5 separate regions of the Homo sapiens genome follow, and all the other regions are linked to region 1. Evidence: promoter capture Hi-C in 16 types of primary human blood cells and fetal thymus (Javierre and others, 2016). All regions are on one chromosome and are shown on one strand. Each heading gives the region's core, a stretch centred on a gene start or on the middle of the fragment in contact. The rest is flanking DNA. Distances are from core to core; before and after follow the strand shown. Region 1 holds the start of KIF24 (kinesin family member 24). Region 2 holds the start of CLTA (clathrin light chain A). Region 3 holds the start of HINT2 (histidine triad nucleotide binding protein 2). Region 4 holds the start of SIT1 (signaling threshold regulating transmembrane adaptor 1). Region 5 holds the start of NFX1 (nuclear transcription factor, X-box binding 1).

What was found. The method cuts DNA at HindIII sites, captures the fragments that hold promoters and counts their contacts. A CHiCAGO score of 5 or more calls a contact.
Region 2: a contact is called between the fragment with the promoter of CLTA here and the fragment with the promoter of KIF24 in region 1, in 1 of 17 cell types (erythroblasts). The highest score is 5.4, in erythroblasts.
Region 3: the fragment with the promoter of HINT2 here is called in contact with the fragment with the promoter of KIF24 in region 1 in 1 of 17 cell types (neutrophils); the score reaches 6.7 in neutrophils.
Region 4: a contact is called between the fragment with the promoter of SIT1 here and the fragment with the promoter of KIF24 in region 1, in 1 of 17 cell types (neutrophils). The highest score is 6.1, in neutrophils.
Region 5: the fragment with the promoter of NFX1 here is called in contact with the fragment with the promoter of KIF24 in region 1 in 1 of 17 cell types (neutrophils); the score reaches 6.3 in neutrophils.

What each region holds. Positions count from the first base shown.
Region 1 is chr9:34,326,994-34,331,104 of GRCh38, forward strand. KIF24 (kinesin family member 24) reads right to left here and starts at 2,275. Exons shown (of 13, transcript NM_194313.4): 1 at 2,113-2,275. It overlaps NUDT2 (nudix hydrolase 2), which reads left to right and starts at 2,576. Exons shown (of 5, transcript NM_001161.5): 1 at 2,576-2,606. RefSeq lists enhancers at 1,942-2,001, 2,102-2,201, 2,289-2,796, 2,332-2,521. The HindIII fragment of the contact is 30,936 bases long and covers 1-4,111 here.
Region 2 is chr9:36,188,591-36,192,701 of GRCh38, forward strand. It overlaps CLTA (clathrin light chain A), which reads left to right and starts at 2,331. Exons shown (of 5, transcript NM_001833.4): 1 at 2,331-2,683. The coding sequence starts at 2,467. RefSeq lists enhancers at 1,966-2,591, 2,307-2,526. The HindIII fragment of the contact is 1,815 bases long and covers 1,225-3,039 here.
Region 3 is chr9:35,812,782-35,816,892 of GRCh38, forward strand. It overlaps HINT2 (histidine triad nucleotide binding protein 2), which reads right to left and starts at 2,261. Exons shown (of 5, transcript NM_032593.3): 1 at 2,118-2,261; 2 at 863-1,003; 3 at 664-768; 4 at 485-557; 5 at 179-364. The coding sequence starts at 2,198. The coding sequence ends at 273. FAM221B (family with sequence similarity 221 member B) reads right to left here. Exons shown (of 7, transcript NM_001012446.4): 7 at 3,610-4,111. RefSeq lists silencers at 2,074-2,393, 2,724-2,903 and an enhancer at 2,454-2,633. The HindIII fragment of the contact is 5,278 bases long and covers 1-4,111 here.
Region 4 is chr9:35,648,070-35,652,180 of GRCh38, forward strand. It overlaps SIT1 (signaling threshold regulating transmembrane adaptor 1), which reads right to left and starts at 2,862. Exons shown (of 5, transcript NM_014450.3): 1 at 2,685-2,862; 2 at 2,433-2,568; 3 at 2,288-2,346; 4 at 2,115-2,176; 5 at 1,226-2,012. The coding sequence starts at 2,784. The coding sequence ends at 1,779. RefSeq lists an enhancer at 1,613-1,662 and a silencer at 2,573-2,642. The HindIII fragment of the contact is 5,575 bases long and covers 1,611-4,111 here.
Region 5 is chr9:33,288,250-33,292,360 of GRCh38, forward strand. It overlaps NFX1 (nuclear transcription factor, X-box binding 1), which reads left to right and starts at 2,267. Exons shown (of 24, transcript NM_002504.6): 1 at 2,267-2,348. The coding sequence starts at 2,324. It also overlaps the pseudogene LOC100862682. RefSeq lists enhancers at 196-1,157, 1,863-2,282, 2,293-2,342, 2,312-3,511, 2,493-2,542. The HindIII fragment of the contact is 6,050 bases long and covers 1-4,111 here.

The sequences.
Region 1 (4,111 bases), core at 1,025-3,524:
AATTAGAATAATGTAAATTAACTGCTACATTCAGTGTCTGATATATAAACACTCAACAATATATTATACTATTATTATTAGTTTATACCTACAGAAAACTCTTCTTATTCAACACGATATGAACATCAAAACCCTTGAGACAGTAACTTGGGAGGTATACAATGACCATACACTCAAGGTTTAAGAAGTAGAACTCTATTATTTATTTAACAAAATGTGTTGAGGATCTACACTGTGCAAATTATAAACTGGTTTGCTGAGCCAGCATAGGGAAACTGGATTAATATATCAGGCATCATAGAATACTAGATCTGGAAGGGATCTAGAAGAGTTCAGCCCCTCACTTTACGACAAAAGAGCAGCCCAGAGAAAGAAACTGTGGTTCTCCCTAAACTAAAAACTGAGAGGCTCATACCTTAGGTTGCCCCAAGGACACACTCTGAATAACTAAAGATTTTCATTAACAATATAAAACCACAAATTTTAAATAAAATGCTATCTTAGCAGTAATGTGCTACACTAAGAAAAATGTAATATGCATATAAAGCCCTGGATACAGTGCTTTGTACGGGGTGAACACTCAATAAATGGTAACTACTACTTTCAGCAGCTAAAAAAAAAGTCTGTATGGTCTTTGGAAGGCTGAGAGTGTGTGGTCTACCTGACATCAACTACTTGACTTGAGAGTAGAGCCACAGGAATTTTAATCTAATTCAATTCTTTGATTTTCCAGATGGAAAAAATGAGGTCTAAAGGGGCTAGATTCAGGCGTTCAAGGCTGCGGTGAGCTATTATCATGCTAGTGCACTACAGCCTGGGTGACAGAGCAAGACATTTTCTCTAATAAAAAAAAAATAATAATAATAATAAAGGGACTAAATGACTTGCAAAGCCACCCACAGTGAATTAGAGACAGAGACAGAGCCAAAGCCAAACCCACATGTAGTGGGTTTCCACTACATGTCACAGCTATAAGGTAGTGTTTCAAACTTTTATAAAAGGGTAACAAGAACATAGCTGCTGTACTGAACTTTTTCACTCCTTTTATTAAGGCCACCAGTGAGCTATGAATTTGATATAAGGAGCAATCACACCAACAATCAGGCTGTGAATATATAATCCATGAGTTAACAACGAAACAGTCTTAGGAACGCAATTCTATCATAGACACCTGATGAATAGATGGAGTTCACCTGAGCAGCTGTTATATGCACTTCAATAGAGAGACTACAAAGCCTCTCTACTTGTAGAATACAAGTACAAAGAAGATGCTTTAAAACATTTTCCAAAGCACACTTAAAATGTGACAATAGCTGCCGGTCACTAAGAAGCTAAAGGGAGATAAATTATCTTGGCATACAGCAACAGAATGGTTTATTTTAAGCAAAGACTAAAAGGAGTCTAATAAAATTATTGGGAGACCAAGGCTAAAAGCCACAGATGCAGGAAGAGTTGCAGCAACCAATCCAAAAAAGTTTAGCCTTTCACAAAGAGTAGAAAGGCCAGCTGTGGACTGTGTGTGGACTTTTAGGTCCTTTTGCATTGAAGATTAGGGTGGCCTCCCCCTAGCCTCGAAATAAAAAATCGTCTCTGAAGCAGAGAGACAACAAGGCAGGGCATGAAGAGGAATCCAATCTATTTCTTGTAAATTAAATTCAACTCAACAAATATTTCCTGAAAATCTACTATGTGCAAGACATTGTGAACGATGCTTGCCTTACCTCAAAGGCTTCAAAATTTTATGGGAAAAGGGAAGCGAACGGGCTTCCCGGAAGTAAACAACCCAAGGGCGAATAGAAATGCCCTAAAAGAGGTGCCGGTCAGGCTTATCGGTTCAAAAGCAAGAAGGCTTTGGGACTCAAGAGTTTAGTCTCCCAAAGTGAGAGAAGTGGCGTTCAAGATAATTGCTGAAGAAAAGGCAGAGATATGGGGATGAAAGATAGGAAAGTAGGTGAACTTTAGGAAGAGCCAAGAGGGGCCAACTCTCGGTTCCCTCACAACTGCCAGTTTCCTCCCGCGCTCAGCCGACGTCACGCGCACCCGTGTCCGCGGGCAGGCGCCACGGTTCCGGACCAGACCTACCCCTCCTCTATTCTCCCCGCCCTTTCTCACCTCGGTCCAAACTCCTCGGTCTGCCCTGTCTGAGAAGAGGAGAAGACAATGCCGTCGGGAGTGAGCCCCAAAGCCCGCAACCTAACAGTCCCGTCAACCCGGGAGCCACCGGCGGCGGCCAGGCCGCATCTCCATGGCAACGCCGCCAAGCGCCAGTTCGAACGCCCGCGCTGTGGCCCGCGCGTCGCCAGTCCCGCACCGCCCACCAATGGGCATCCAAGGAATCGGTTGACGTTCGTTGACTTCTCCTCTGGAAGACCAATCAGAGGTCTGAAGAAACCGTGGGCGTAACTCTCAATTTCCGACCTTCAGCCAATCGTTCCGCTTGAGGGAAGATCTCGCGACGTTTCAGTGTGAGACGCGCACCTTTGAGGCGGGTCGAAGATCCTTCTGCCGAATTCTATTGATGGGCCCAAGCGTAACCAGGCTCTTCTGATTGGCCGGTGTACTTCAGTTTCCGTCCAAGGTCCGCCTCCTACCTCCTTCTGCTTCGGGTGAGTACCCTTAAGGGCCCACTTGATTTTAGTTCTCAGTGGAGGAAATGAGCCTTGGAGCGATGGGAATCTGCCTCTGGCAAACCTCTGGTCGCTGCAGGGCCCGAGAGGGATGCGCCCTCCTCTAAGTTGGCAGTGAGGTGTGGGCAGGCCAGGTCCCATCCGCTCTCAGGACCTCAGTTTTCCTGTCTGCACCGGGAGAAGGGAGGTTCCCTGACTCTGAGCCTTGCTTGTCCCCGTCGGAGTGGGGATAGGGTGGGTCGTCCAAATCCCAGAGGCGGGAGAGGTCCAGGTTTAGGGCCCAGAGGCCCAGGCGCCGAACCTTCCCCTCCCTGGGCCTCAGTTTCACTTGTTGCTACCCATTAAACCCCGCCTGCTTTCCAAAAGAGATTTTATGTTTTCTAATTGCTTCAGTTATTGAATGGATAATATCGTGGCAGTTATAGCAGAAGTAAAGAAAGTCGAACAAGAGCCCCACCGCCTTAAACAAACAAACAAAAAAGGGACAGCGTAAACAATGCAGGCCGGGTGCGGTGGCTCACGCCTGTAATCCCAGCATTTTGGGAGGCCAAGGCGGGCGGATCACGAGGTCAGGAGATCGAGACCATCCTGGCTAACACGGTGAAACCCCGTCTCTACTAAACAAAATACAAAAGTTAGCCAGGCGTCGTGGCGGGCACGTATAGTCCCTGCTACTCGGGAGGCTGAGGCAGGAGAATGGCATGAACCCAGGAGGCGGAGCTTGCAGTGAGCGGAGGTCGCGCCACTGCACTCCAGCCTGGGCGACAGAGCGAGACTCCGTCTCAAAAACAAAACAAAACAAAAAAAAACTGAATGCAATCAAATTGTCAAATGTAAAACGCTATTATAGAGTTAAGGTTAAGATCATTGATGTTAGGAGTCAGGCAGACCTACATTTGAGTCACTTACCCAGACATCTCTGAGCTATAGTTCCCTTTCTACTCTTCTGAAAAATGGCAGTAATGCCTCAGCGGGTTGTTGTGAAGATTAAGTGAAATAATGAAGGTAAAGCACTTGACACAACGCCTGGCGAGTAGTAACTTCTTAAAAAATGGTAGCGGCCGGGCGCGGTGGCTCACGCCTGTAATCCTAGCCCTTTGGGAGGCCGAGGCGGGCGGATCACGAGGTCAGGAGATCGAGACCATCCTGGCTGACACGGTGAAACCCCGTCTCTACTAAAAACACAAAAAATTAGCCGGGCGTGGTGGCGGGCGCCTGTGGTCCCAGCTACTCGGGAGGCTGAGGCAGGAGAATGGCACGAACCCGGGAGGCGGAGTTTGCAGAGAGCAGAGATCGCACCACTGCACTCCAGCCTGGGCGACAGAGGGAGACTCCGTCTCAAAAAAAAAAAGGTAGCTATTATTCTTATAATAAGAACAGGCAAATACACTAGTCAGTGCGTTGGTGTACTTTTTGTAACTGAGTACCCAATTTTGCCCAAAATTAGTCAGTTAAGGGAAAAAAGGTAATTCTTACTAATAAGG
Region 2 (4,111 bases), core at 1,081-3,580, 1.9 Mb after region 1:
CCCATTGCCCACCCACCTTTGTTCAGTCCACCAGGGATCATGGCAGGCTACACACTTCTAGTTCCTGGACATCTTCTAAATCTTCTGTCTCCCAGCAATCACCTGGGCTCCCCCAAAGCCCTCAAACTAATGGTTCTGGCAATTTCACAGATTCATGATTTATGACCCCATCCTTTCCCCTTGCCTTTTTCCCAGCCCGTACCTCTGGTCGGTCACCAAGTTAGTCACTTCCCTACTGGGACCCGCTTTCCCATCAACGCTCCCCACTCAGCTCCATACCTCTGCCCTGCCCAGACCTTCATCATGTCACTCCTGACATCTCTGCCCACAGCCTCTGCCCCATCCATCCTGCAACCAGGGACCCGATTAACCTCCTAAGCAGCAGTTGATCAAAACATTCCTTTATCTGAAACCTTCTATGGTTCCTTATTGCCATTAAGATTCCTTAACATGGAATGCTTTCAGGGCTCCAGAATCTGTCCCCAGATTTTCCTTCAATTATTCATCTTGCTGAGCTCTTCAGACTCCAACTAATTTACTCACTGTCCCCAAAACATGCCAAACATTTTCCCACCTCTGAACTTTTACATGACACTAACATTAGACCCTCATTATTGACTCTTCTAAACGTTCCCCATATTTCAAAACTGAGCTCCAAGCCACCTCTGTGAAATCATCCGTAAACACATCAGCTATTCCTCCAATTTTGAGTGTATACTTGTTTGTTGCTTTTGCATAATATGTAATGCCTCCTCTAGCAAGGGAATCACAGGAGAGTTTCTCCCAAAGTCATGCATTTCCCCAAAAAGAATGCTGTCTGTTCCGGAGCTACTACTGTTGTGAGCAACTAAAAGTTGTCTTCCTTGGGCTCTCTCATAGTAGTCCCTGCCCCTCTTTTCCTCATGAGACTATGTCAAGGCTAATGTGAAAATACTTCATGCACTGTTGCCAATGTATGTTAGGGATGAGCATAAAACAACAGACAAGGGGAAACAGAATCAATTGCAGACCCTAACATTTTAACTTTCTTAAATGTTTTTCTTCAACACTTTCCTATGGTTCATACTTTAAATGACTTTAAAATTATGCTTTAAGTAAATATATGCTTTAAATAATTTTTATTTGCTTCATTTTTCCTTCATAGCTATCCCTTTTTTTTTGTCATCAAAGATATGTGCGTTTTTTATAAAAACACTTTCTTGTCCCCTGCTGACTACCTCTGGAAGCTTCTTGTTGACCTCTGGTTTTTTGGTTTCTTTTTTTGGCTTTTCATTTCTTAGGGTGGTGGTGGTGGTAGTGAAGGAGAGGGGTCTTCTGGTGGCCCCTGCATAAGCACTCCCCCTCAACATGAGCATGATTAACTGGAACCACTGTTATTTCTGTGGTGTAGACAAAATGAGCCATGTAGCTATTAACATCTCCCTGATTTAAAAAGAAACACGGAACTTTCTTTTTCCTGCTGTCCTTAGGGAGGAAAGGTGTAAATATAAGAGACTGTAGCTAGTATCTTGGAAGTCCCCAGGAGACAGGCGTTTCCTCTTGGTCACTGACTCTCTGGGTCACTGACGCTCCTTGAACAGCAGGGCCACCGTGTCTCCCTTTGAAGCAAGTGATCCTTAAGGAATTTTCCAGGTTTAGTAACTTCTGTCTAGCTCCGAAAAGACGTAATGGCTGCAAAAGTGCTTCGTTGAAGAAGATAAGATATATTCATTTTTAAATAAAAATACTTATGGGCGAGAAAAATCGGAGTGGACTGAATCAATTACAGTAAATCTATGGGCTCTAAGGGAGCAAATAATCCAGGCTGGCTGAAAGAATTAAATATTTTAAATTTATAAAGCCAGGGACCCTCAAATCCATAAAAGGATTCAATCTTCTTCTTCTTTTTTTTTAGGATTCAATCTTCTAATAATCCCGGGAGGGGGCGCAAGAGCAGGATTCTTGTTTCTATTTTACGAATGAGGAAACTGAGGTTCAGAAAGCCTAAGTGGCATGCCTCTTCAGTAATCGGCCAATCGTCGCTGCCCTAACTTCACCTCACCTCCCAGTGCAGCACTAGAGTCCCCTCAGGGGTGGCCGTCCCTGGTCAGTCCAGCTCCAGCAGACGGGGTGGGTAGGACGCTCCCTATCAGGCAGCACTTCCGCCTCCCGGGGCCCGCGCAGCTCACCTCCCTCACCTCCCGCCCTACCCCAGTCACGAGTTGTTTTAGGGGGACCGCCCCTCCACTTGCTGATTGGGTAGCTCCTGAACCATTGTTGTCCTCTGATTGGTTGTTCCCTTTTCGGCTCTGCAACACCGCCTAGACCGACCGGATACACGGGTAGGGCTTCCGCTTTACCCGTCTCCCTCCTGGCGCTTGTCCTCCTCTCCCAGTCGGCACCACAGCGGTGGCTGCCGGGCGTGGTGTCGGTGGGTCGGTTGGTTTTTGTCTCACCGTTGGTGTCCGTGCCGTTCAGTTGCCCGCCATGGCTGAGCTGGATCCGTTCGGCGCCCCTGCCGGCGCCCCTGGCGGTCCCGCGCTGGGGAACGGAGTGGCCGGCGCCGGCGAAGAAGACCCGGCTGCGGCCTTCTTGGCGCAGCAAGAGAGCGAGATTGCGGGCATCGAGAACGACGAGGCCTTCGCCATCCTGGACGGCGGCGCCCCCGGGCCCCAGCCGCACGGCGAGCCGCCGGGGGGTCCGGGTGAGAGTGCGGGCGCGTTTGGGGCGAGAGGACTTGTCTGGAAACTCGGTCCACAGTGGGTCCGAGAGCTTCTGTGTGACTCGTGCTCCTTGCTGAATTAGGAGGTTAGGGAGCAGTGCAAACAGGAAACGAGACCCTGGCCCGGTCTTTCAGAAACCTAGGCTCGAGAAGCCTGTTCGGTTCTCAGCATGTTTGAGTGCTTCTGGGCGCGGGCGGAGCGAGAAAGCAAGTGTAGGGTGGCAGGCTCCGGAGCCGGAAGAAGCCCGTTCAATTCAGCAACTTTTCATTAAGCATTTGCTGTGCCTTTAGTCCGGTCTCTGAAGCAACCGCATTGGCGCAGTTTTTCCAGACTTATAAGCTTATAAGTCTGAGCCGAGCACAGAACTCGTTATTAGAAAAGGAGGGCGGAAAAAAATAAGAATGGAAATATCGTTTTTGAGAGATACAAACAAAAGTAGCAATGCAGTTCAGCATTTAAGCACTTAAGGTGTACAGAGTGTTGGATTACGAGGAGGAAGGAGGGAGTAGGGAACTCGAAAGATGATCTAGGTCTGGAGAAAGAACTGCCAAGCGCGGTAGGAGTTTGCTATCGTTGAGCGATTGATTTACAGCTAGGACTTCTGGAGCTCTTCCTCTGGGAACAGCTTTGGTAGGCAATATTGCCTAAGCAGAACCCAAGATTAGCCTAAACCAATCAGGGAGGGATGAAGAGGTGAATAGAGAATGTTCTCAGCCAAACTCAAGTAAAAATGGGGCAGGTAGGATGGCAGTTTGACCTTTGGATGCCTTAACCTGTGTGTGATGCTTAGGATCATGAGTGGAAAAGACCTACTTAATAATACAAAGAAGTAGGAAATTTAGCTAGAAGAAATGAAATACGGCTTTTCATTCACTTAAAAAATTCCAACTAAGGGAGAATAGGGCACTACTGGGGCATATAGGAGTAGTGTCTACCCTAAATTCAAACCTTAAGGAGCCAGGTAGGTAACATATACGAGAGAAGCTGGCTTGACATGAGACAGTAGAAGTGTTGGAGACTGAGGCTTTGCTGCACTATAGTAGTGCTCTGTGTAAAGGCATTCAGATCCAGCAGTCTCAAGTTACTGTGCCAGCCAGGCGGAACCTTTTGATGGATGGGTTGGTGGGTGTGCTGCTAGTTTGCAGCCTCTTGAGTTTTTGACTGCACCATGTTGCTTCCTAAACAAATCAGTCCCCCAATAAGAACTTAGTGGGAACATGTAATATGCCCGAATATGCAACTTTATAGCGGGTAGGTTGGACTAAACTAGGCTGTGATTGTGAGATGAAGTTGGCCTTAAGTGATTAGGGGATATTTTCATTGGGTGGTCTCTAACATTTGTCTGAGAATTTTAAAATTGACTTCTTAGACCCTTAGTTTAACCTTCCTCATTTAATAGAAGAGAAGCA
Region 3 (4,111 bases), core at 1,011-3,510, 1.5 Mb after region 1:
CTTGACCTAGGGTGGACCACTTGTCAAGAAGACTTACATATCTGCAGGCAACATTTAACCACAGGTTGGACCTCCTCAGTGTCTTTCACTCAGACCAGTCAAGGGGCATCATAGCCCTGAATCAGTTTTCTTTCCCCTTTGTGGTATAAAATTTTATATTAAAGACAGGAGAGCATAATTAAGGGAGAACAGTTTTATTAGCATCACAGGGTCCATTTTTCCCTTTCCATCCAAGCATCCAGAGTCTGGTGTCCTTTAATCAGTTGGCAGGTTCAACCTGGAGGCCACTGGAGCTGCCGGCCCCCAAGTACATGAATGTGCAGATGATACACAGATTGTGCACCCAGCTTCCCATCGTTGATCACTGAAATTGAGCTTGGGGTTAGGGAGTCAGGATCATGGCAGAGGTCGAAGAATGAAGATCATATTGAGAAGTAGGAATGAGAATTCATAGGTGAGGGACCAAGGGCCAAAAGTCACTCACCAAGTCGGTATCCATCTCCCAGGCCCTCAGCCTTTGCTGTCTGCTTGGCCACAAGGAGTAGGTGTCCTAGAAGCTATAGAGAGAGCGGAGGGACATAGGTGGCTTCATTCATAGGGAGCAAGACCTCTAGCTGGGTCCAGGGGCTCCTCCCAGCCAAACCCTGGCCCTGTTCTTCCCACCTGCTGGTCTTCTTCTTCAGCCTGGCTAATCCGAGGAATGGGCTTCTTAGGAATGACCAGGAAGTGCACAGGAGCCTGAGGGGCCACATCACGGAACACAAGACACTGGGGGAAGTGACAGGCCAGAGGCCACGTTACTTCAACAGGTTGGATGGTATCTACAACATTCCTAAGGGGATAGGTCCTAAGAGCACCCCACCTGCTGGTCCTCATAGAGAATGTCAGCTGGGAGGCTCTTGTCCAGGATCCGGGAGAAGATGGTTGGGGCTGCTCCCCCAGGAGTTGCCTGCTGGGCCTTGGCCACTTCATTCCCATCAGTCACACCTGCAGCTCCTCGGACCTGAAGGTGGATCGACCATATTCAAAGGAGGGAGCTGGCAGAAGCTGGGCTCTGATAGTTGTTAATTTCGTCCTTCTAATAACCTATTCATCGTTCCCACCCAGGAGGAAAGTTCCTGAATTTCAGAGCACCAGCAGCAAAGGGTAGGGCCAGAAGGTGCTGGACCTGGTTAGATAACAGGCGGTATTATTATCAGGATTCAGCAGTGCAATTGATTCCTGCTCATGTGTCCACGAAATATAGCACTGTTTAGGGAAAGGATCTAGAATGAGAGACTGGGGATTTTGGTCTCAGTTCCTACCTTACCATACCACTGAATTACCTCAGATAAATTCCTTCTCTCAGCTTCTAATATAAAATAAAGGGATGGTTTCCATAATCTCTTGCGATGGCTTGAATCTCTTTCCACTCTCACCTTGTTAGTACATTTCCACTTATTTCCGTTACTTGTTTTCTGATCTTTAAGCCTTGTCGCCTGTTTTATTTAAGTTTTAATGCAATCGCCCTGTTTGACACTAGTTGACCCCTCATCTGGGTGTCACATGTGACTCTGTGAATTTTAACTCTTGTCCCTTGAATGAGTGGAGGTAAGAGTTCAGCTAAGTGACCTCTGCTCCCCTAGCCCCAGGGAACTTCGGGTAAGGGATTCAGAGAAGGCTGATGTCATTGCATCACGTTGGGGGAGAACGGGACGGAATGAATTCTCTGACCTCCGAGCCGCTTCTGGCAAGTGCAGAAGAGAGGTTAACACTAGTGCTCATTAGGAGGCCAGAAGCCTGAGGAGGGCAGAGCACTGGCTCCAAGAAGAGAAAGCTCATTTCCTGCAGGGGGCATCGGGCCAGCTGGGCTGCAGGCAGTGGAAAGAAGGCGGCAGCCGCTGCACTGACCCTGTCCCGACCTCGGCGCCCCGGCCTGCGCAGGGCGGGAATCAGCACCAGCTCGTTCTCCGGAGCCACCAGTTCGACCTCACCACACAGCCCCGGAGCTTGTGCCTCGGAGGGGCAGAGGCCACAGGCAGGAGCTCTGCGCGGCTCTGCGCGCCTTCGGGACCCCCTGGCCCCGGATGGCTTCGGAGCCCGCAGGACCCCCTACTCGCTCCCGCGCCACTTCTCACCTGCCCCCCGCGCACCCCCGTGGCCGCCACGGCTCTGCGCGCCGCGCGCAACCCAGCAGCCAGCACCACGGCTGCCGCCATCTTCCCTGAGCCGCGGGAACCTCTCACCCGGGTCAGCACTCGGCTCCGCGGCCGGCCGTGGGTGGGGACTCCGGGCGCGGGGAAGCGGGGTAGTGGCGGCCGGGCGAGCCCTGCTACCCCATTGGAGCGCGCCTCTGAGCACGATTCACCCCATTGCCTCTGCAGCCACTTTGGAGGCGGGCTCTTTTCATCTCATTGGCTGCTTCTACCAACGCGAGGACAATTTTCCATTCCATTGGTTTCGTCTTCTAGTCCGTGTGAACGTTCTTTTCCCATTGGATCCCCTTACTAGTTTCTCTGTGAGAGAAACTTCCACTCCATTGGAAGGATTAATGGAGCCTGGAGGTGGGATTTTCTCCTAGTTGAATCTGATACACAACTCTGGCTTCTAGGTTGCGGCTCCCGAGTGGGTGGTTCTTTTCGTTCTTGGTTCGTCCTCTTCAGGTCTGGTTCCTATTGGTGCGCGGGGAGAAGGGGGCGGGGCTCCGCCACCTGCTGCAGAAAGGGCTGTTTTAGACCCTCTCACCGCTTTGGCCAGGAGGAGGGCGGGGCTCTGAGGGCATCCGGCGCTTATTGGCTCCAAGAACCACCCGGGGTGGGGCTAAAGGTGAACGGGGATGAGGTGTGTTTTTTTGTGTTTGTTTGTTTGTTTTAACTGGCGGGGCTGATGCGCAGCATTTTCTCCACAAGGGCAGTTTCAGTCCCTTGAGCATTTTGGAGATTTTAATGTACTTATCTAAGGGAAATTCTTCCTTAATTCTATGTTCTTGTTAACGCATTCACTCCATAGATTAAAAAGTCTGTGGTTTTTGCATTTTTTTTTTTTGAGCAGGAGGAGATAAGAGTGTCCTATATTTGCCGCACAAGAATTATAATAAGCAAAGGAGTATGTATTCATTGTTCTTTTCTAATCGGAAAAGGTGTGTGATACAGTTAGCTCGGTGCCTGGTGTTTTCTTTTTTTTTCTTTTTTTCTTTTTTCTTTTTTTTTTTTTTTGAGACGGAGTCTCGCTCTGTCGCCCAGGCTGGAGTGCAGTGGCGCGATCTCGGCTCACTGCAAGCTCCGCCTCCCGAGTTCACGCCATTCTCCTGCCTCAGCCTCCCGAGTAGCTGGGACTACAGGCACCCGCCACCACGCCCGGCTAATTTTTTGTATTTTTATTAGAGACGGGGTTTCACCGTGTTAGCCAGGATGGTCTCGATCTCCTGACCTCGTGATCCTCCTGCCTCGGCCTCCCAAGGTGCTGGGATTACAGGTATGAGGCACCAATAAGTCAGGTTTGCACTGCTGGAATATATATTTTTGACATAAGAAACGTGGGGTCACAAAATACTAATATTCTCAGACGCTAGGTAAGTTTTAGTCTGATATCACATAGGACAAGTTACCACTGTTTCTTTGGTTTTTCTTTTTTTCTTTTTTTTTTTTTTAAACACATGACCTGATACATATAGGTGGTCAGTAATTGTTGAATGAATAACATTTGGTGTTTCCTGTCTTTTTTTCATAATATGTAATATGTATTGCATATGATACTAACCCATGTGTAATCAATTTTTCATATTTTTACAGTCTACGTAAATATAGTTTGTATTGGCTGCTTATTATTTCCTTCAATGAGTTTATCATAGTAATCCTAACTCTATTGTTGACTATTAGTTGAATTAGTTTTAGGTGAATGGTTATCATGGGGCATATAACCACTGTTGGGGAACTTTGCTTCTAGAGATATAACAATCTCTTTTGTATAGCTATATTATTGTTAGAAAATCCTTTCTCCTCTAAAGGGCAGACATTTGATTCTGTGATTTTCCCCAGGGATCCTAGCAGTCCAGATTGCATTCCTTCCCTTGGAGGAACAGATGGCCCCCCTAATTGTGAGGAAATGTAGAATGGCCTCTTCTCTGGGCCCC
Region 4 (4,111 bases), core at 1,612-4,111, 1.3 Mb after region 1:
GGATAAAGCCCAAGCTCCTTGGCATGACTTATGGGCGCAGTGTGATCTGGCTCTGTCTGCCCCTCCAGCCTCATCTTACCATTGCCCCCATCTCACTCTACCCTCCGCTGTGCCTAATGCACTTCTGCCAGGTCCTCTGAATAAGCCTCTCCTTTGCCTGTGGTTCCCTTTGCCTTGGAGCATTTTCTGTCCTTCGCTTCTCCTGGCAGATTCCTACTATGTGTCATGTCTCTACCTAGAAGTCACTTCACCTATGAGCTCCCATAGAGGATCCTGTATTTCTCTTATTTTAATAATGCCTAGCATTATTGAGCATTTATTGTCTAAGTGCTTTACAAATGGTAACTCATTCAGCCTCACAACCACCTTTTTTTGAAGTAAACACCGTTAATATCCTCTCAATCTTACAGATTCAGAAACCGAGGCACAGTTGCCCAAGAACACACAGCTGGTAAGTGGTAGACATGGAATTTGAATGCAGGCAGTCCGGCTCCTGAGCCCAGAGTCCTAATCTCTGTGCCAACTGGCTGATGTAGCATGCTATATGGGGTAGGAGGCTGGGGTTAAGAATCAGCAGGTGATGGGTGGACAGGCAGGACAAATTAGATGGGGATTAAAATGAAAGTGGTGACAAGCAAAACTGTTGCCAAGACTGCAGGTGACAACTGAGAGAGTGAAGGCCAGGCACGGTGGCTCATGCCTGTAATCCCAGCACTTTGGGAGGCCAGAGTGGGAGAGAGTGAGTGGAGATGGACCGCTGCCATAGTGATGGGGTAAGGAGAAGGCCTCTAGGGGTATACGATGACTAAGTGCAGATAAGGCTACTGATGTCAAAACAGGGGTATAGGTGGGACTCATAGCGGACAGACGGAGGTCAGATTGGAGGACTTGATGAAGGAACCAGGCTGGCAGGTTGTGGAGGTGATGGCAGTTATAGAGGTCAAGGGGAGAGTAGCTCAGGACTGTGAGCTTGCAGCCCCAGGGGGAATGCAGTGGCTCTGAGTGCAGATCCCAGGGGTGTTCTAGCAGCAGCAACAGCAGCTGAGGAGCTGGGCTCTGGCCCTCCACCCCGGTGCCCACCTCTGCACTGTTGATGCCGCAGCCCCTCTTGGCCCCTCATCCCCAGCTAGGCACCCCCAGAAAGAGCTCCGTGCAGACAGCAAAGCTCACACCCCCATCTGCAGGGCCCTTTGCAAGTCTTCAGCCTTCTAGGTAAAAATCTAAACACTTTTTGGAAAGTTTTATTTGAAAACTTGGGGACAGGACAGAGACAGCAGGATGGAGACTGTATTCTCCTGCTAGGGTTCTTAGGTCAAAAGCCAGGCTCGGGTCCCTCCCGTCTCTAAGTTCCAGGTCCACTCCAGTCTGTGGACTCCTGAGGAATATACCCACCCACCCACTGTCAGGCCCTTACCCCTCCCCCACCGCCCACTTCCTGTGCCTGAGGAGACACTGAGGCGTGGGGGTAGACTATGAGGGAGCGGGGGTGGGGAGGATCTGGTTAAACTCCAGAAGAAGGAAGTGAGAACCTGGGAGTTTGGGGGCTAAGAGGAACAGATAGAAAAAAGAAATAAGGAGGGGGCTACTGTCTTTGCCTCCTCCATCACGAAAGCTTTGCCCTGAGATGTCTCCCTTGAAGCTCAGATAGGAAGTCCGGGGTAGATCACATCCTGTGACTTGGCAATGGCGCCCGTCTTTGGGTGCTGGTTGGGAAACAGTCATGCCCCTGCTACGGGGGGCTGGGGCAGTGCACGCCCCGCTGTGCCAGGCCCTCCATCTCAGCTGGCTGCAGGCTGGCTGTTGGCATAGGCCTGATCCGGGAAGGAGGCCCGGGCCCTGCGGGTCTGGGCACATACTGAGGCATAGAGCTCCGGCTCGGGGCCCGAGGCCTGGGACTTTGGCTCAGAGTCCAGCACCACCTCCGAGTACTTGACGGGGGTTCCAGGACCGGGGATCCGACCCTGAGGAGGCCGCAGCTGCAGGCTGGTATAGCACATCACCTCCTCTGCAGCCTGGAGATGCAAGGCTGTTAGAAGTTCACTGGACCCTCGGAAAAGCCCGAAAAGCCCCCCACTTCCTTCCCTCCCCCTTTTCTCCAGCCACAGTTGACTCACCCTGGCAGGGCCTCCAAGAGTTGGATCCTGCTGGTCTGGCTCTGGGTCTTGAGACAGCCGTCCTGGGACGGGGAACAGGAATCTGGTCAGCAACTTGTCCTTCCTCCTGCACGCCCCCATCCCAGCCACCCAGGACCTGGCCTCTGTGCCCCTCCTCTCTGCCAGCTCCCTACCTGTCTGTAGATAATGCAGGTTCCCATACAGCGGGACCTCTTCCACAGACTCTCCAGAGCTGCAACGCAGAGTTTAGGGGATGAGTGGGGACTTCTCGGTAAGAGAGAACTCTCAGTCAACCCATCCCTGTTGTCCTTCACCCACCGTCCCTGCCCCGGATGGCTCCTGCTCCGGCCCCTGGTCCACTGGGACAAGTGTGCAGCCAGCGAGATGAGAAATAGCAGCGTCACAGCCCCTAAGAGGACCCACAGTCCCCAGGCCTGGGTTATGGAGGGGATTCCTGTGGATGTGAAAGGAAGGGGGGTGTAACAGCCCCGCCCCACCCCCAGGGCCCAGCAGGTGGGACCTGGGGCCACATGACCCCTCCCCCACCAGCCCCTGCCCTGCCCAGCTCACCCAGTGCGAGTAGATCCGTGCAGTTGTCGCCTCTGCTCATGGCTGCAGATGTGAGAGTCCACAAGCACACTGCTCTGAGCCGAGGGTCAGCCTGGTTCATGGCCTGACGGTTTCCACAGCACTTCTTACTCCCATCCCTCCTCAGGCCCGTACCCCGCAGCTCAGCATCCCCAATACTGGTGGTGGCAAAGTCTCTGGTTTCCGGGGAGGAAGGGGGAGGGGAGGGATGAAAAAAAGAACAAAGACCCCGCCCTGTGCCTGCACCTGCGCCACTCCTGCAGCTCCTGAGCTTCCCCCACCCTCGCTGCCCAGGCCCTTTGCCCCCCTTGAGAAGAGAAGCAGGCCTGTGGGTAATGTGCCACGGGCAGTTGAGTCCCTGAGGACTCTGAGGGCGGGGGGTGGGGGCAGAAGTGGTGTGAAGCAGGACTAACAAGGACAGGAACACCCCTTCTGCTCCAGGATGCCCACCTTCCTCCCTGACTCTGGTCCCAGAAGAAAGATGTATTCCTCAATGAGTATGGTATAAAGTGGAAGGGTCGGGGGAGCCTCCTGGTACCTCTGATCCCATCACACCCTAAGGCTGATCTGAGAGGATATGTGTTTAGATGATGCTTGTTATTGTTTCATTGGGGGCATTATAATTTGGGGGACACCCCCAAACCTCCCCTTTCAACCCACTTCATCCAAACTGTCTGTAAGAACTGTCACTCTCAATAATTAATTGCATTTTAAAACTCTTTGCTGTAGGACTGTCCTGGGAAACTGAGCCCTATCTTGCACATGTTCACTTCAGCGGGTGTAGTACCTGCCATACCTAGAGCTAACTCCATCACGTGCAAGGCTATTGATGTAGGAAGAGGGATTTTAAGTTGCAAATATAAACCTGAGACCAGAAGTCAGAGATGTGTTTTGTCTAGCCCATACAACATTTTTTAAAAGTTTAAAATCAGTGCAGTGGCATGCCAACAATAGGGATGGCAGAAGTCCTGCCCCTTGAGTTGCAGGCAATAAGGGGGTGCATTGTCTGTAGAGAATTTAAAAAATAAAAATCAGTCCTCTTATTATCACCATGTTCCAGAAATTCTGAAAAAAAAAATCAGTGATAAAATTATCCTCCCTGAAAAATATTTTATGGATCTAAGTTTTATATTTTTTTTGAGACAGGGTCTTACTTTGTCTCCCAGGTTGGAGTGCAGTAACACAATCTCAGCTCACTGCAGCCTTGACGATCTCCCGGGCTCAAGTGATCCTCCCATCTCAGCCACCTAAGCAGCTAGGACTACAGGCATGTGCCACCACACCCAGCTAATCTAGTTCATTTTTTGTAGAGATAGGTCTCCCTGTGTTGCCAGGCTGGTCTCAACTCCTGACCTCAAGCAACCTGCCCACCTCGGTCTCCCAAAGTGCTGGAATTACAGGCATGAGCC
Region 5 (4,111 bases), core at 1,017-3,516, 1.0 Mb before region 1:
ATTTTTCAAACCAATGGGGCTGTGTCTGTTGTCCCCCTCGGTCCCCAGGGGTGGGGGGGCCTTGGAAGGCAGGGTGGTGTTGGGGGGCTGGGGGGCAGGCTGAGTGTGTGTGTGTGTGTGTGTGTGGGTGTGGGTGTGTGTGGAGTGTGGGTGTAGGACTCCAGTCCCAGCTGCTGCCTAGGCTCCTGTGGGTCCGACCGGGTTCCCCCTCCCCTGTCCACCTTCCCCAACAGGGCTATAGTTTCAGGGTGTCCCAGGCCTTGGCTGGTTGGCTGGGCCCAGCTCCTGGGGGCTGGGCAGGGCAGGGCAGGGCAGGGCCGGGTCCACTTCCATTGTTAGCAGTTGTTTGCAGAATTTTCTCTGTTACCATTCCTCTCTTTTTGTTCTCGCCCAGAGTGGGTGGTTTTTTGTTGTTGTTTTAGATTTTCATGTGAAGGCAGAGAGTTTTTTTTCTTTTTTAACTCCCCATCCCCCTATGCGGGGTGTCATTTCACCATCCACATCCTTGTTTGCGTTTCTGGCCCTCGTCCTCCCTGCCTCTCCTCTGCCTCCCCAACCCCCGCCTACCTACTGCTCCCAGGGGTCTCTCCAGGGGCAGGGGGATTTCAGGAGATGGGGTGGGGGCCAGCCCCTACTGGACCCTTGTAATCTGATTTGAAGACCATCCCCCTGATGGGACCAGCAGCCCCGCTGGCCCACTGGGGGTCCCTCTTAACATCTGCTTGTTGTGGGGGTCAGTGCCACGGTCTGCTGGGGTCTTGGCACTGTCTTCCTGGCCGGGGCCTGGCACCTTAGCCCCCAGCCGGCCCGAGTGGGGGATATCGACACCCCCAGCTAAAGCACAAGCACCTTAGTCATCCCTCCTCTCCCCCTGCCTCCTGGCCTGCCACCCCACCCCAGCGTTTACCCCAAAGCACAATGCCCTGGTCACTTGGCAAGTGGCTGGGCCTGACGGAGGCCAAGGGGCAGACCGGGGCTCCAGCCAGACCCCCGAAAGGAAGCAGGTGCTCCCCCACTTCCAGGACTTAGTTGGGGCGGGGGGCCCAGCTCCTGGGCCTAGGGTCTTCTCACCCCCACCCCCTTGTCCTGGGTAGGCCCCTGCCTGCCCCTCTCTGCCTTTTCCTCGGGTGTCCCTCCTCGAGCCCCTGCGGCACTGGCTTGGGTGGCAGAGCCCACTTGTTTCAGGGACCCCAGGAGGTGGTGCCCCCTGGCTCCTGGGACTGTGTGTGGGTCTGGGGGGTGGGGGGGTGGGGAGAAGCGTCGGGCAGGGGGTGCAGGGGAGGAAACTCCTCACCAGGAAAGCCAAAGACAGGGTTGTGCCTTACCTCAGGAGCCACCCGTTCCCCCTTGCCCTGCCGTTCACCCTCCACCTTTCCCCCCGGGCGGCCTGCTGCTTTTTCCTTCTCTTCCTCCCCTGCCCTGCCCTGAGCTGCATGGTTCCCCTACCCTGGGAAGCCAGGAAGGAATCTGAATGGAGAATCACCAACCACCAAAGAAAAAAAGACTGCGGGGCCCTCCCCTGCCAACTCCCCTTCCCTGGCCGCCCACTCACCCACACCTCTTTCACGCAGGACAGGCTGCCCACCCTGTCCACGTGAAGTGCCAACGCCCTCCCCACCCTGGGCCGAGCCCCCACCCCTCCCTGGGCCCCCAAGTGAGATTGCACATTTAACTACTGTAAGGAGAGGAGCGGCGTTGGCAAATGTGAACCATGAGAATATCGGTGATACTGATGAGAATAAACGCCTTTGTAAAAAAAAAAAAAAAAAAAAAAGTCTGGAGCCAGGCGTGGTGGCTCGCCTGTAAGCCAAGCACTTTAGGAGGCCAAAGCGGCAGGATCGCTTGAGGCCAGGAGTTGGAGAGACTAGCCTGGGCAACATGGCGAAACCCGTCTCTACTAAAAATAGCTGCGCATGGTGGCTCCGCCTGTAGTTCCAGCTACCGGAAGGCTGAGGCGGGAGGATTAGAGACTGAAGCTATAGTGAGCCATGATCAGACCACTGCACTCAAGCCTGGGTAAGGCAGCAAGACCCTATATCAAAAAATAAAAAAAGGAAAACCACAATGATTACGCAAGTCGCCGCCCTCCCTCCTGCGATTGTTGCTATTTCCATCCAGCTACTAGTCTCCTCCTCCCGCCCGACACCTGGCGCGTCTATCTGACGTCACGAACGCGCCACACAGATTCGGGCTGCGCAACCTCTGTGGCCGTCTACACGGCGCGCAGATGCGAATATTCTCGCGGCGCCGGAAGTCCGGGGCACGTGACCTGGTGACAGTGCTGACTTGGCTGTACAGCTCGATCTAGGTTCTGCGGCACGGGATGGCGGAGGCGCCTCCTGTCTCAGGTATTGTCCCGGCCCGAGCGGGACTGGGCCCCTTTCAGGGAGCGGAAATTGGGTCAGTGACGAAGTTCTAGGGCCTCAGCCACTCATATCGCGAGAGTAGCACATGCTAGGGCGTAGGATAGTGGCTCGGAAGGGCCAAGCCCCGCGCATCGTGCGTACGAAGATCTGTGTCTTCTTGGACTAGATGGTGAAGCCCAGTAGCTGGGTTTCGGAGGAGAGAGGACTTGTCCCGGCGCTGCGAGTCGATGTGGGTGCCCTGCCTTCCCACAGGCTGTTTCTGGGGCAGCGGCGCACTGACCTTCGACAGGCGGGCGTCGGCCAGGTCACAGCCAGTGACGGTGGCGGGCTCTTGACGTGTAGGGTGTGGTGTGCTCATACCGCCTGGAGTGGTGGCGTGGGCGCGAGCCGAATTCCAGTAGTTTAGAGTCTCAGCCTGCTGCGAACCCCGTGTGACTCAGTCTCAGTCTCCTCATCTGTCAGTTGGGAGTAGATAAGTTAATTCCTGTGATGGCTCCCGCCCTGTACTGTACCTATTCTGTAATTGTTCACTCACTCCCCCTCCTGGAGTTGCCTCAGTGTGTAGAGACAGCCTCATTTGTTCGTTGATATAACATCCATTTCCTCAGGGTGTTCCATAGATCAGTGTTTTCCAAATGTGTTGGACAGCAACCAAAAGAAACATTTTGCATCGCGACCTTAAATATTGTACACTTACATAAATATAAAAGCGAACCAGAAGTTTCTGGAAGCAGTGAGGTTGGTTGGTTTGTTTTACAATCAGCAATATATTCTGTTTTCTGTTTCGTTTAAAAATATGTCACAGCCCACTGCCTTCATTTGATTTTATGGCCCACTCTGGAAAACAGGGCAGCAGTTTGCAGAATGGAGTTTGGAAACCATTGGTTTGAATCTCAGCTCTGTCCCTGACCAGCCGTTGGGGCACCAAGAAGACCATATATGTATTTGTATACTGGGTGGCAGGTAAAATGTATTTATTACTATGGTTCTTAGTTTAAAAAGTTAGGGCCGGGCGTGGTGGCTCACGCCTGTAATCCTAGCACTTTGGGAGGCCGAGGTGGACGGATCACGAGGTCAGGAGATCGAGACCATCCTGGCTAACACGGTGAAACCCCGTCTCTACTAAAAATACAAAAAATTAGCTGGGCATGGTGGCACGCGCCTGTAGTCCCAGCTACTCCGGAGGCTGAGGCAAGAGAATTGCTTGAACCCTGGAGGCGGAAGTTGCAGTGAGCCAAGATCGTGCCACTGCACTCCAGCCTGGGCGACAGAGTGTGACTTCGTCTCAAAAAAAAAAGTTGGAAAACACACTGCATTGGTGTACCCTAGTCTTGATGTGGATATTAAGTCTTCCTTGGGGTTGGAAAACTTTTTGGGCTGGGTATTTTGTTATTCTCCTCACCTAGTCCTTCACCAGATTCTCTAAACTGGATCTATTGATCGTCTCATCCACAGGCTCGTTTCTGACTCATTTCTGTACCCTTCAGTGTTTGAAGAAGAATTCGGTGGGGCCTAGTTGTGAGTCTTCGTGTTGAACTTTGGTGTTGTGCCCAAGTTATTACCTCCAACCCAGAAAGTATCTAATGAGGCAAAATCTTCTAGTCCAAAGACCTCCTTACTCCTTTTCATGTGCTTTAGTTTGATTTTGCTTTAGTTCCCATTCCATGTTCGTATTTTAGCATCATCTTTAGCCCACACCCTCATCATCAAAGTCTTTAAACAGAAGCCCAGTGCAGAGGATACTT